Regions from separate parts of the Homo sapiens genome. Here region 2 is linked to region 1. The links are contacts of gene promoters, found by promoter capture Hi-C in human tissues and cell types (Jung and others, 2019). All regions are on one chromosome and are shown on one strand. The core of a region is centred on a gene start or on the middle of the fragment in contact, and the rest is flanking DNA. Distances in the headings are between cores, read along the strand shown. Region 1 holds the start of MCC (MCC regulator of Wnt signaling pathway). Region 2 overlaps MCC (MCC regulator of Wnt signaling pathway).

Evidence for each region. The method cuts DNA at HindIII sites, captures the fragments that hold promoters and counts their contacts. A contact is called where the count stands out against the background at its distance.
Region 2: a contact is called between a fragment that was not itself captured here and the fragment with the promoter of MCC in region 1, in 1 of the 25 tissues and cell types used here (mesenchymal stem cells).

What each region holds. Positions count from the first base shown.
Region 1 is chr5:113,486,448-113,491,752 of GRCh38, reverse strand. MCC (MCC regulator of Wnt signaling pathway) reads left to right here and starts at 3,300. Exons shown (of 19, transcript NM_001085377.2): 1 at 3,300-3,508. The coding sequence starts at 3,339. RefSeq lists an enhancer at 3,107-3,401. The HindIII fragment of the contact is 5,374 bases long and covers 243-5,305 here.
Region 2 is chr5:113,168,988-113,174,138 of GRCh38, reverse strand. The region is part of intron 3 of MCC (MCC regulator of Wnt signaling pathway); the gene reads left to right. Among named protein-coding and RNA genes, the nearest start is that of DCP2, 190 kb to the right of the region's middle. The HindIII fragment of the contact is 4,489 bases long and covers 1-3,840 here.

The sequences.
Region 1 (5,305 bases), core at 2,051-4,550:
TATGGCTTTGCTGGGTACAGCCCATACAGCTGCCCATACAGGTTGGAGCCTGGTGCCTGAAGCTTTCTCAAGTAGATGTTGCATGCTGTTGGTGACTCCACAGTTCTGGGGTTCTGGTAGTGGCCCTGTTCCCACAGCTCCACTAGGCATTGCTCTGTTGGAAACTCTCTGCAGCAGCTCTGACCCTACAATTCTGCTTAACATTGCCTTAGTTGGAGCTCTCTGAAGTGCTCTGCCCTTGTTACAAGCCTTTGCCTGGACCCAGGCTTTCAGCAAAAATCCTTTGACATCTAGGTGGAGACCCCACATCTCCACAGCTCTCGCTTTCTGCAAACCTGAAGAATTATAATGGCATCATATGGATGCCATTAAGGCCTATGGTTCTCATCTTCTTGAGTGACAGGTCAATTCACACCTAAAGCTTCTTGAGCCACAGCTGGCATGTCCAAAAAGCACTGTACCAGAATTTGGGAAGTAAAGACCTGAGAGAGACCTTGGCAGCAAGCCCATGAAAGGTGCCTCATGTCTGTCTCCTGAAACCATTCTGTCCTCCTGCCTCTGGGTCTGTGATGAGAGGAACAACTCAAAGTTCTCTGAAATGCCATCGAGGTCTTTCCTTCTCGTAATGATACTTTCTTCCTTTACTAATCTCTGGAACAAAAGGTTGCTGGGCTACACCCTTGGTTTCCTCTCCCAAACACACCTTTTCACTCTTCACATGGCCAGGCTGAGAGTTTTCCAAATCTTTCCACTTTGCTTCTCTTATGATTGTAAATTCCACCTTTAAAGTTTTTTTCCCCCTCTCACAGCTTGATGTAAGTGGTTAAAAGTAGCCATGCTGCAGCCTGAATGCTTTACTGCTTAGATATTTCTTTGGCCAGATACCCCAGTTTCTCTCTCTCAAGTTCAGCCTTCCAGAAAGCCCTCAGGCATAGAACAGTTCAGCTAAGTTCTTTGCCAATTTATAACAAGGATGGTCTTTACTCCATTTTCTTGTACCTTGTTCCTCAGTTCCATCTGAGACCTTGTCAGAATGGCCTTTACTGTCCATAGTTCCATCAGCATTCTGATTATGACCATTTAACCAATTTCTAAGGAGTTCCAAACTTTCCCTGTTCTTCCTGTCTTCTCAGCCCTCACTAGAACCTAGGCTTTTTCTAGACTGCTGCTTCATTCTTGTAGCCTCTGCTCATTATCCAGTTTCAAAGCTGCTTCTCCATTTTCAGGTATTCGTTTTCGTTAACACCCCACTCCCGGTACTAATTTCTGGTCTTGTCAATTTTCTGTTGCTTAGAACAGACTACCTGAAACTAGGGTGATTTATAAAGAAATGAATTTATTTCTTACAGTTCTGGAGAATGAAAAGTCCAAGGTCAATGGGCCACCCTGCTGGTGGGGACTCTGTGCAGAGTCCCAAAACAGTGCAGGGCATCACATGGCAAGGGGGCTGAGCCTGCTAACTCAGGTCTCTCCTTCTCTTCTTATAAAGTCACTAGTCCCACTCCCATGATAACCCATTAACTCATTAACTCATGAATCTATGATTTTAGTGCCCTGAAATACTGGGAACTTAGAGAATAATAAAGAAGTAAAGTAGGAATAGGTAGATGGGGTGGAGAGGAGGAGAAAGAGAGCAGAGATTCCTTCCTTCTGACCTAGCAGACATTCCCAAGACATATGGACTTGTTCCAGTTATATATTGCTGCATAACAAATCACCTCAAAACTTAATGGCTTAAAACAACAATTTTTAATTATTATCTTCACAGCTCTGGGGGTTGGTTAGCCAGTTTTGCTCAGGGTCTCCAATGCAGTTGCAGCATCTAGAGCTAGCATCATCTCTCACTCATGTCTGGCACCTAGTCTGGGAAGATTCTAAGATCCAGGGCTAGAACAGCTGTAGCTCTTTGGTCATCTCCTTTTTTCTTTACATGGTCTTTCTGCATGGTTTCTCCAGCTTCAGGGTAGCCAAACTTCTTTTCAGGCAGCTCAAGGCTTCAAAGGTAAGTGTCCCAAGGGAGAGAGCCAAGTGCAATCTGCATTGCCTTTTCTAACCTAGTCTCAGAAGTCAAGGCAGTCACAAGTCCAATCCAGGTTTAGGGGAAGCAACAGACTCCACCTCTTGATGAGGGGTGCACCAAAGAATCTGTGGACATATTTTAAAACCACCAGAGAACTTCACACGCCTCTCTGGCAGAAAATCCAGGACAGAATAATGAGTCATTCACGAAACCACAAATTGCTTCACTGTGGTTTCCCTTTGGCTATGGGGGAATAGTGCAGTGTTTAAAGGCTCCTGCTCTGGAGTTAGGCTGCCCGGGCTTGCCTCTGCCCTAACACTTACTAAACCTGGAACCTTGAGCAGGTCTTGGTACCTCAGTTTTCTTACCTGTAAATTGGGAACAATGAGAGCTAACAGTTGTTGAGCACTTACTAGGTGTCAGACATTGTCCTAACTGCATTATGTCTGCTCTCCTTTTATATGTAAGATAACTCTATGAGGTACTTATCTATTAATACTTCCTAAGTCGTAGGATTGATAATAAAAGAGGCATCTTCCAGGTCTGTAGTGTGGATCAAATGAGACCATCTATTATGTTCGCTCTTGGCATTATTAAAGCTGTTGGGGGAAATTCTAGTGATGCCTGGCCAGTAGAGTGAGCCGTTTCCAGAAATTGACCCAACGTACACAATGCCACACAGCGTGCAGACTCTTCCCAGTACAGAGTGGGAGCCAAGATGAGGGCTGCGAGGGCCAGGTTTCTTGACAGGTGTCAAAATTTCATAAAAAGGCCAGTCATTCCGGTTCTCATTGGTGGCTATGGGTACAGAACCCGGAACAATCCTGGAGAGTGGGATTACAAGCACCGTTTTGAGTTTGCAGAAGGAGAGTGTTTATATAGCTTCTCTGGAAAAGGAAGCCATGACTCCGGGCGGTCGGAGAAGGTCTGCCGGGAGTACACCTGCCCTCTGCCTGAAGCGTCCCCAAGTGTCCCGGGCCCGCGTCGTTGCCGGATGCACAATGCTGACACCCTTCCCGGGGGCTTCCAGTGTATTCTGCCTCCTCTTGTGTTCCCGTTGCCACCCTTAGCTCCCTGACTCTTCCAGCCACCTTCCCCTCCTCCCTCTTCCCTGAGGTGCCTCCTCGGGCGATTCCAGAGCGCCCATCTTCCCAGTCCGGGCAAAACCCGGAGAGGTGGAATCCCTCGCCCGGAGCGCCCCGGCGGCCACTGGGCATGCTCCGTTGTCAGGCAAGTTCGGGGCTGCAGGCAGCTTGCGCGCCGCGCGGATTCCAGCTGCGGTCGCGCGTACTCCTCCTCCCAAGTAGGGAGCGGGCGCATGATGGCGGCCGCGGCGGCAGCGGCTGCGGGGAGCTCCAGCAGCGGCGGCGGCGGCGGCGGCAGCGGCAGCAGCAGCAGCAGCAGCGACACGTCCAGCACCGGCGAGGAGGAGAGGATGCGGCGCCTCTTCCAGACGTGCGACGGCGACGGGGACGGATACATCAGCAGGTACGCGGGGAGGTACGAGGAAACCGACAGGAGCGAGATCAGTCCCTCCGCGCGCCCTTGACCCCTGCTCTGCCCCCTCGCCCCAACTTGCGGCAAGTTGCTCAGAAGCTCGCGGGAAAAGTTGGCCGCGACTCCGAGAGCGCGTAGCCGGCTCGGCCACGAAGGCCGAGGGGACTGCTCTGTTCGCCTTGCGGGGGTGCCAGTTGGTCCAACTTTTCCCAGCGCTGTCTTTGTCTAGGCGTTGGGAGACATCTCCTTAGGATGCGCACTCTTCCGGGGGCTTGGAGTGTTCTTCCCTGTGGGAAAAGGAGTTCTGGCCGCTTGTCCCAGGTAGGAGGGGCTGCCCCACAGCCTCGGGGTCCTGGGCATCAAGATGCCGCAGCACGGGGCAGCGATCTGCCCGGCGGCTTGGTGGACACCCCAGGGCCGCACCGGGAGGAGATGAGCTAAGCGACAGCCTCGGACAGGGAAATAACCTGTGAAGAAACTTTCTTGTGCCGCAGAACCCATGAATTCCAAACTTCAGAGCCCAAAGAATGGGTATCGTTTGCCACCCAGTATTGATTTAAACGCAGTAGCCTGAGAGGAACGAAGCGCTCAGGAGCAAACTAGGGCTAGACCCGACTCCTACCCGGCTCTGTGCGCTGACCAGGTGAGCTTCGGCGTGGCTCCGGGCGCCTCCGCGCCTCCACTCACAAACAAACTTTGGGGTGTTTGCTTCGGATCCCCCGCACTTCCTACAGAGGCGGTATTTAAGCTTCCTGCCTCCCGGCTTGGCCAAATAATTACTTCTGCCCAAATTTGTGTCACTTAGACTCTTGTGGTGAAGAAGGCAATCGCAACATTTTCTGGTATGCTTCTATTGAATGGTTGACACCGGCCATTGAAGACTTGGTATCCGTGGAAATTTGAATTGCCTTGGATGAAGGAGCAGCCTAAGTTGTGCATTACATGTTTCTTTAGTCTATGTCTTGGTGATGCTAAAGATCGTTTCTGAAAATCCGGGGCTGCTTCCTGATTGTCCCTGCCTACCTAAAAAAAAAAAAAAGAAAGCAAAGTGCGGAATTTTTCCCTTAAAATAAAAAAAATTATTTATTTGGGACTCAACGCAATTTTGATCATTCTTAGGTGAATTTTTATTACTTTGCTAAAGTTTTACTGAGAAACATTAGGAAGATATCAGAAAACTTGATGGAGTAATTCTGTTCGGAAATGAAAATAATATGTAATTCTGATTGACTCCATGCAAATTTCTATCTGGAAGTCTCGTTATTTTGGTTCTGGGAGTAAAAGAAATTTCATTATATAGTTTTCCTTTTTGTTGTTTTCCTACTTGAAAGGTTATTATCTCATTTGCAATAATAAAGGCAAACTCCAACTTTGGATACAATTTTTTTTTTTTTTAGACAGAATCTCGCTCTATCACCCAGGCTGGAGTACAGTGGCGTGGTCTTGGCTCACTGCAACCTCCGCCTCCTGGTTCAAGAGATTCTCCTGCCTCAGCTTCCCGAGTAGCTGGGATTACAGGTGCCCACTACCACTCCCGGCTAATTTTCGTATTTTTAGTAGAGAAGGGGCTTCACAATTTGGCCAGGCTGGTCTCGAATTCCTGACCCTAAGTGATCCGCCCGCCTCGGCCTTAGGAAGCGCTGAGATTACAGGCCTGAGCCACCGCTCCCCGCATGGATGCAAAAAAGTTTAATTTCACACGGGCAAGAGTGCATACAGAAAACTAGCAGCGTGCTATCCTTTTCTAATTTGGCCTATTAATATATTGCTTTATCTGAACTACACTTT
Region 2 (5,151 bases), core at 347-2,846, 320 kb after region 1:
TAGGACTTTTTAAAGCAGTGTTCTGACTTCTTTACTTCACCATGGCAGTGATATACCTCATTCTAGACACATTTCTGTAGTTCTCAAGCATGAGTTCCAGTTCTGTTGATTTTGGTTCATCTTAATCTACCCAGTGTTACCCTCCATGTTCATTTCCCCTTTGTGTTGCTGTTGCAGTAATGTAGAAAGGTCTCTGTCTTTGGAATTGGTTATGCTGTTAGAGTGGTGTGGTGGGCTGTAAATCCCTGCACTTAGACCTTTGCTGAGTTACACACACCAAGTGCATTCAGGGTTATGGTGCTGTTTTAGCTAATTGGGGTTTGAAATACTAAATAAGATGTTAAAGACAAATGTTCTAGGTCACTTTGATTTCATTCATTCTAGTACACTGTACTAGCTACTAGGAATAGAATATACTGAGAAAACAGAAATAAAGTTTGTCCTCAAGGAATTTATGTCTAGGTTAAAGAGAGCCTCTGCAAAGAAAAATACAATTTGATAAATGGAGTGCTCATGTTATTAGATGGGATTCAGTCATGCACATGATTACACTGATTGGGGGAGAATAGAAGTTTAGTGGTGTTGTGATCCAGAGCCTCATGGGATTTCAAAACAAATCTTTACAGTGACCTTATATTTATCAGGAAGAATAAACAAATAGCTAAAATATTATTTTTAATAAAACAAAGGGGGAGATATTACACTATGCAACATTAAACATAATATTGTCATTTAGAGTAACATAAAGATGTAGCTATAATTATTCAGTAGTAATAGGACAAACAATAAATGAAAAGTACAAAGTTGATTTCTAATTCATGTATGCCATGAAATTCCAGATGAATAAAAGGTTTAAAAAATGACCACATAAAAGAAAACCACACTGAAGAAAATGTTGGTAGCTATGGAATCTGAGTGGGGTGGAGGATGTCTTTCTAAACAAAAATCAGAGAGAGGATCTGTTAAGGAAAAGGTTTATGGAAGCTACATAAAAATATGAAACATACAGATGTGATAAAATGCTATATAAATTAAAAGACGAACAGTTCACTGGGAAAGAGTATTTGCAGTGTATCTGGTGAAAAGTTAATATCTGTTATATACATCAAACTCTAAAAAATCATCCTATCAAAACAGGCAAAGAACATAAACAGGCAATTAAAAAACAAATTCATGTGTCCAGTAGATTTACGACAAAAAGTTTATCCTGAAATAATCAAGAAAATGAAGACTATTTTGGAATCAAATTGGCAAAAAAAAAATATGTGATATATCTACACATGTTAGGAGTAAAGTGAAATAGATACAGCTGGGAGAAATATATATTGCAATAGCTTTCGGTAGAAGGCAATTTCACAGTCAGAAGCCTTGGCCAGATAATTAACTCTATTTCCACGAATTTGTTCTAAGGTTCTTCATTGTAGCAATATACAACAAGGAAAATTGGTTACACATTCTATAATTGGCTGTTGGCTAAGTTATGGTACGCCCAGCACATAGGTAATTGTGTTAAGATGGACAGATGGCCATGGGTGGAGTCTTTCTCGTCACCTGATTTGTTCTGTGTTATGTCAAAGTGTGTAAGAGGTGGGGAAAGAACATTTCACATTTGCCTCCCCAAAGCCTTTTTAGTCAAACGAGGTTACTTAAAAGAAGAGGATGTGCATGGCAGAGTAGAGTTTTCAGCTGTAAAGCTATAGGAAATAGCAACTTGAGGCTGACCAAGTACAGTGAGAAGGGAAAATGAAGCTTGTTCTCTATGCAAATGAAGTGCTAAAGCAGCTGAATAGTTGTTCTAACCTCCAAAATTTTGCCTAGGCTGTTAAATAACCTTAAAGAGGTGAGAGTTTGATGCCTGAGACCCTTTTTTGAGTTGTTTTGTGTTCAGACAGACAAAAACATTGCTGTCACCTCTGAATCCTGTCTTAAGTGATCCAGTGAGACTTGATCAATATTAAGTCAGGTGCCTGGATTGTGTGAGCTGAACTGTGTCTATTGGGTATGAACTGTCCATTGGTATGTGTCTCTTTTCTCTTCCACTGCTACATTTGGAGAAAAGGGTCCTACCTGTTCTCATATAGAATCCTTCCCCTACATAACAGTTCTTTTCCCCCTCAGTGCTCCCATAGTACCTGAAGTCAGTCAACATTTGGATAGCTTTCCATTTTACTTTTTCTTGGTCAAAACATGGCACTGATGGTTTGCTAAGAACCATGGGAGATGGATCATGAGGGTGAGAAGGGAGAGCCTTCCTTATGTAGGGGCTCATGTAGTAGGGTCAGTTACTGATGAGTTCCAGGACTTGCTGGTGACAAGCAGATATCACTGAAGCTCTTCGTAGCTAGAAACCTCACAGATTCTGGAGAATTCCCTTGCCACAGCTGCTTCCGTTCTTGGAGGCTGCCCGGTAACCACCTGTGAAATGATACAGGCCACAGAGCCACCAATTAGATGTTCTGGGTTAAAGAGGTTTCCACTTTCCAGGGCCAGGCGCGGTGGCTCATGCCCCTAATCTCAGCATTTCAGAAGGCCAAGATGGGCTGATCACTTGAGGCCAGGAGTTCAAGACCAGCCTGGGCAACATGGTGAAACCCTGTCTCTATTAAAAATACAAAAATGAGCCAGGTGTAATAGTGCATGCCTGTAGTCCTAGCTACTCAGGAGGCTGAGGCACCAGAATAGCTTGAACCCAGGAGACAGAGTTCGCAGTTAGCCGAGTCGTGGCACTACACTCTAGCCTAGGCAACAGAGTGACACTCTGTCTCAAAAATTAAAAAATAAGAGGTTTCCGCCTTCTGCTTGTCTCTGTGCATTTTTGCCCTTGTTAGGTAATTGCCCGACTGAAGCTTAATACATTTTGGGGCAGAGATGTAAACTCATAAGTACCCAAGTGATGAAACAGCTCTATTTTCTATGCTTCCTCCTTTTGTCTTTAGGTTCAAGAGAATGGCTGCCTGTCTGATGGGAAATTATCTTGCACCATGCTGTGATAGCACTCTGCTAAACTTGACTCAGGAGCTTTCTTGTGGATGTAGGCAGTTGTGATCAAATTTTTGTGTGGAGGGCAGATATCTGAGTGAACTGCCAGGACATGGTCACATGCCTTTGACAAACAGAAATGGTTCAGGAGAGCCACTGAAGCCAAAGCTTTAGGGACGCATGTACTCGGTGCTTCCACAGAGTCTCAGTTCTGGATGCAGAACGCCCAGTGTGGGAGCCAAACACCCACTCTTCAGCTTAAAGGTATTGCCAGCCATCTGGCAATATTTGGATCTGACTCTCAGATTTCAAGTCTTGCCCTTAGAGATAAGTATTCCCAAGGGCTCTTTTCTGGGAGCAAAACATATGAGTTGCTTGCTTATACTGTAACTACTGACCACATCACGAAAAGTCTATAACTTCTTGTCAAATTTTGTAAACAGAGGCAAACATAATAAAGTATGTTAGAGATGAATTTTAAGAACACCAGTAAGGAGAGTTATATATAAAAGTCAGTAAATACTACCTTGAACTGTAACATTTTTGTAGTGCTTTTAACAAACAACACTTATAGGAATGCCCCGAGACCCCGGTATCCCTAGGAAGTGGGTAGAGTAAATATTAGCTTCCCACAAGCAGATAGGGACATGGGTGGGTGTGCATAGCAAAGGCTGGGTACTGTGGGACTTTAATGACGCCACAGAAATAAAAAGCATCCAAGCTTCTCACCATTCATGCAGTTGTGGTTTATCAGAAAATTTTGGAAATGTCCCTTCTTGCCTAAGGAGGTAGGAATATGGTATATTGCCCAATTCTACAAGGAGAGGATGATTCTGCCATGGATTAGAAGTAAAGTCCATTGAAGAAAAGGACAAAAAAGTGAAAGGAGTAAAGGGACCAGTTAGCACCCTATGGCTCCATCTGTCCTTGTTTAAAAGAAGTAGGTGCTGTAAAGAAGAAAAAAGAAATTTAGATTAAGACACTACCATCAATGGTCAAGCTTCTTTCTATGAAGACCAGACCTGCCCATGACTTTGTGCTTAAAAATACTCATTTGTGCATCTTACTAAAAATCCCTAAGAATTTTGTATTGGAGCTTAGATGTGTGGGGTATATCCATCTAATTCTACCATAGTAGCTGTAGCTGAGGTATCATGTACTTGCCATCCCCAGAAGGAAGTACTTTATTTAAGCAATGTGAAGTTGAGCAATGCATAAAAGCTGGAGTAGAATAGAAATGTTATCATTTATGCCGATCTCCCAAACAGTGCACTTTGCTGGCCAGTCTTTAAATTGCCTCTTGCTGCCTGAATAGCTACTATTAAAGAAATGAGGCATTTTGTTTTCTAGACAGCCCTCTGATTGTTGACTACAAACACTCACACAGAGTGCCTGATTGCAGAGCTTTCTGTTTTTTTCCCAGGTCATCCCACAGCAGTTCAAAAGGTGACTGCTCTTGGGGAAGAGGTCAAGTCAATGCATTTTAAGAAACCTACCCTTGTGTCTCCCCATGGCCAGAATGTGACCCCATATAGAGCTTCTGAATTTGTACATTAACCCCCTTGGCACCACACCTGAGCAGTTTGACTGGGTCTTAATGAGAGAACATTTTTTCAAGAACAACCTTTACTTGTTTCTCAGTGCACACCTCATCTCCACCCAATTATCTAAACATCAGCATTCCTTGGTGTGCTTGGCCTTGCTGGTCCATGCTGGTTATAGGGTGTGGGGTGGCATTACAGGAGACTATGCAAGATTAAGGCTTTGACACATTTGGGTGCAGGAATGGTCCTGCAGAGGAAAGTCTTTCAAAAAGACTTTTAAAAAGACCTATAATGTTAATTTGCTTATTATTATTTTCCTTTCTCCTTCTGGGTTTCTTGGCTTCCTTTAGAATTAATGGTTATCTCCATGTATACAGCCTATCCATTCTATTTCCCTCTTCCCCCTACTCTTTGGATTCTTTTCCCCTTTTTCTCCTCCCATCTTACCTATAAAACAGCAAGAGCAATGCAAATCAGTGTCCCTTCTTTCTGTCTTCCTAGGACAGAGGGCAGGGAGTCTGGGACGGTGGGAGTTTCAAGATTTCTTTAAGGGAGGCATTCAGGGTGCTCTGGGGCTGGGGATTGGTGATGGGGAGGCACAGAGGGCTTGTCTTAAAGCCGTTTGCTT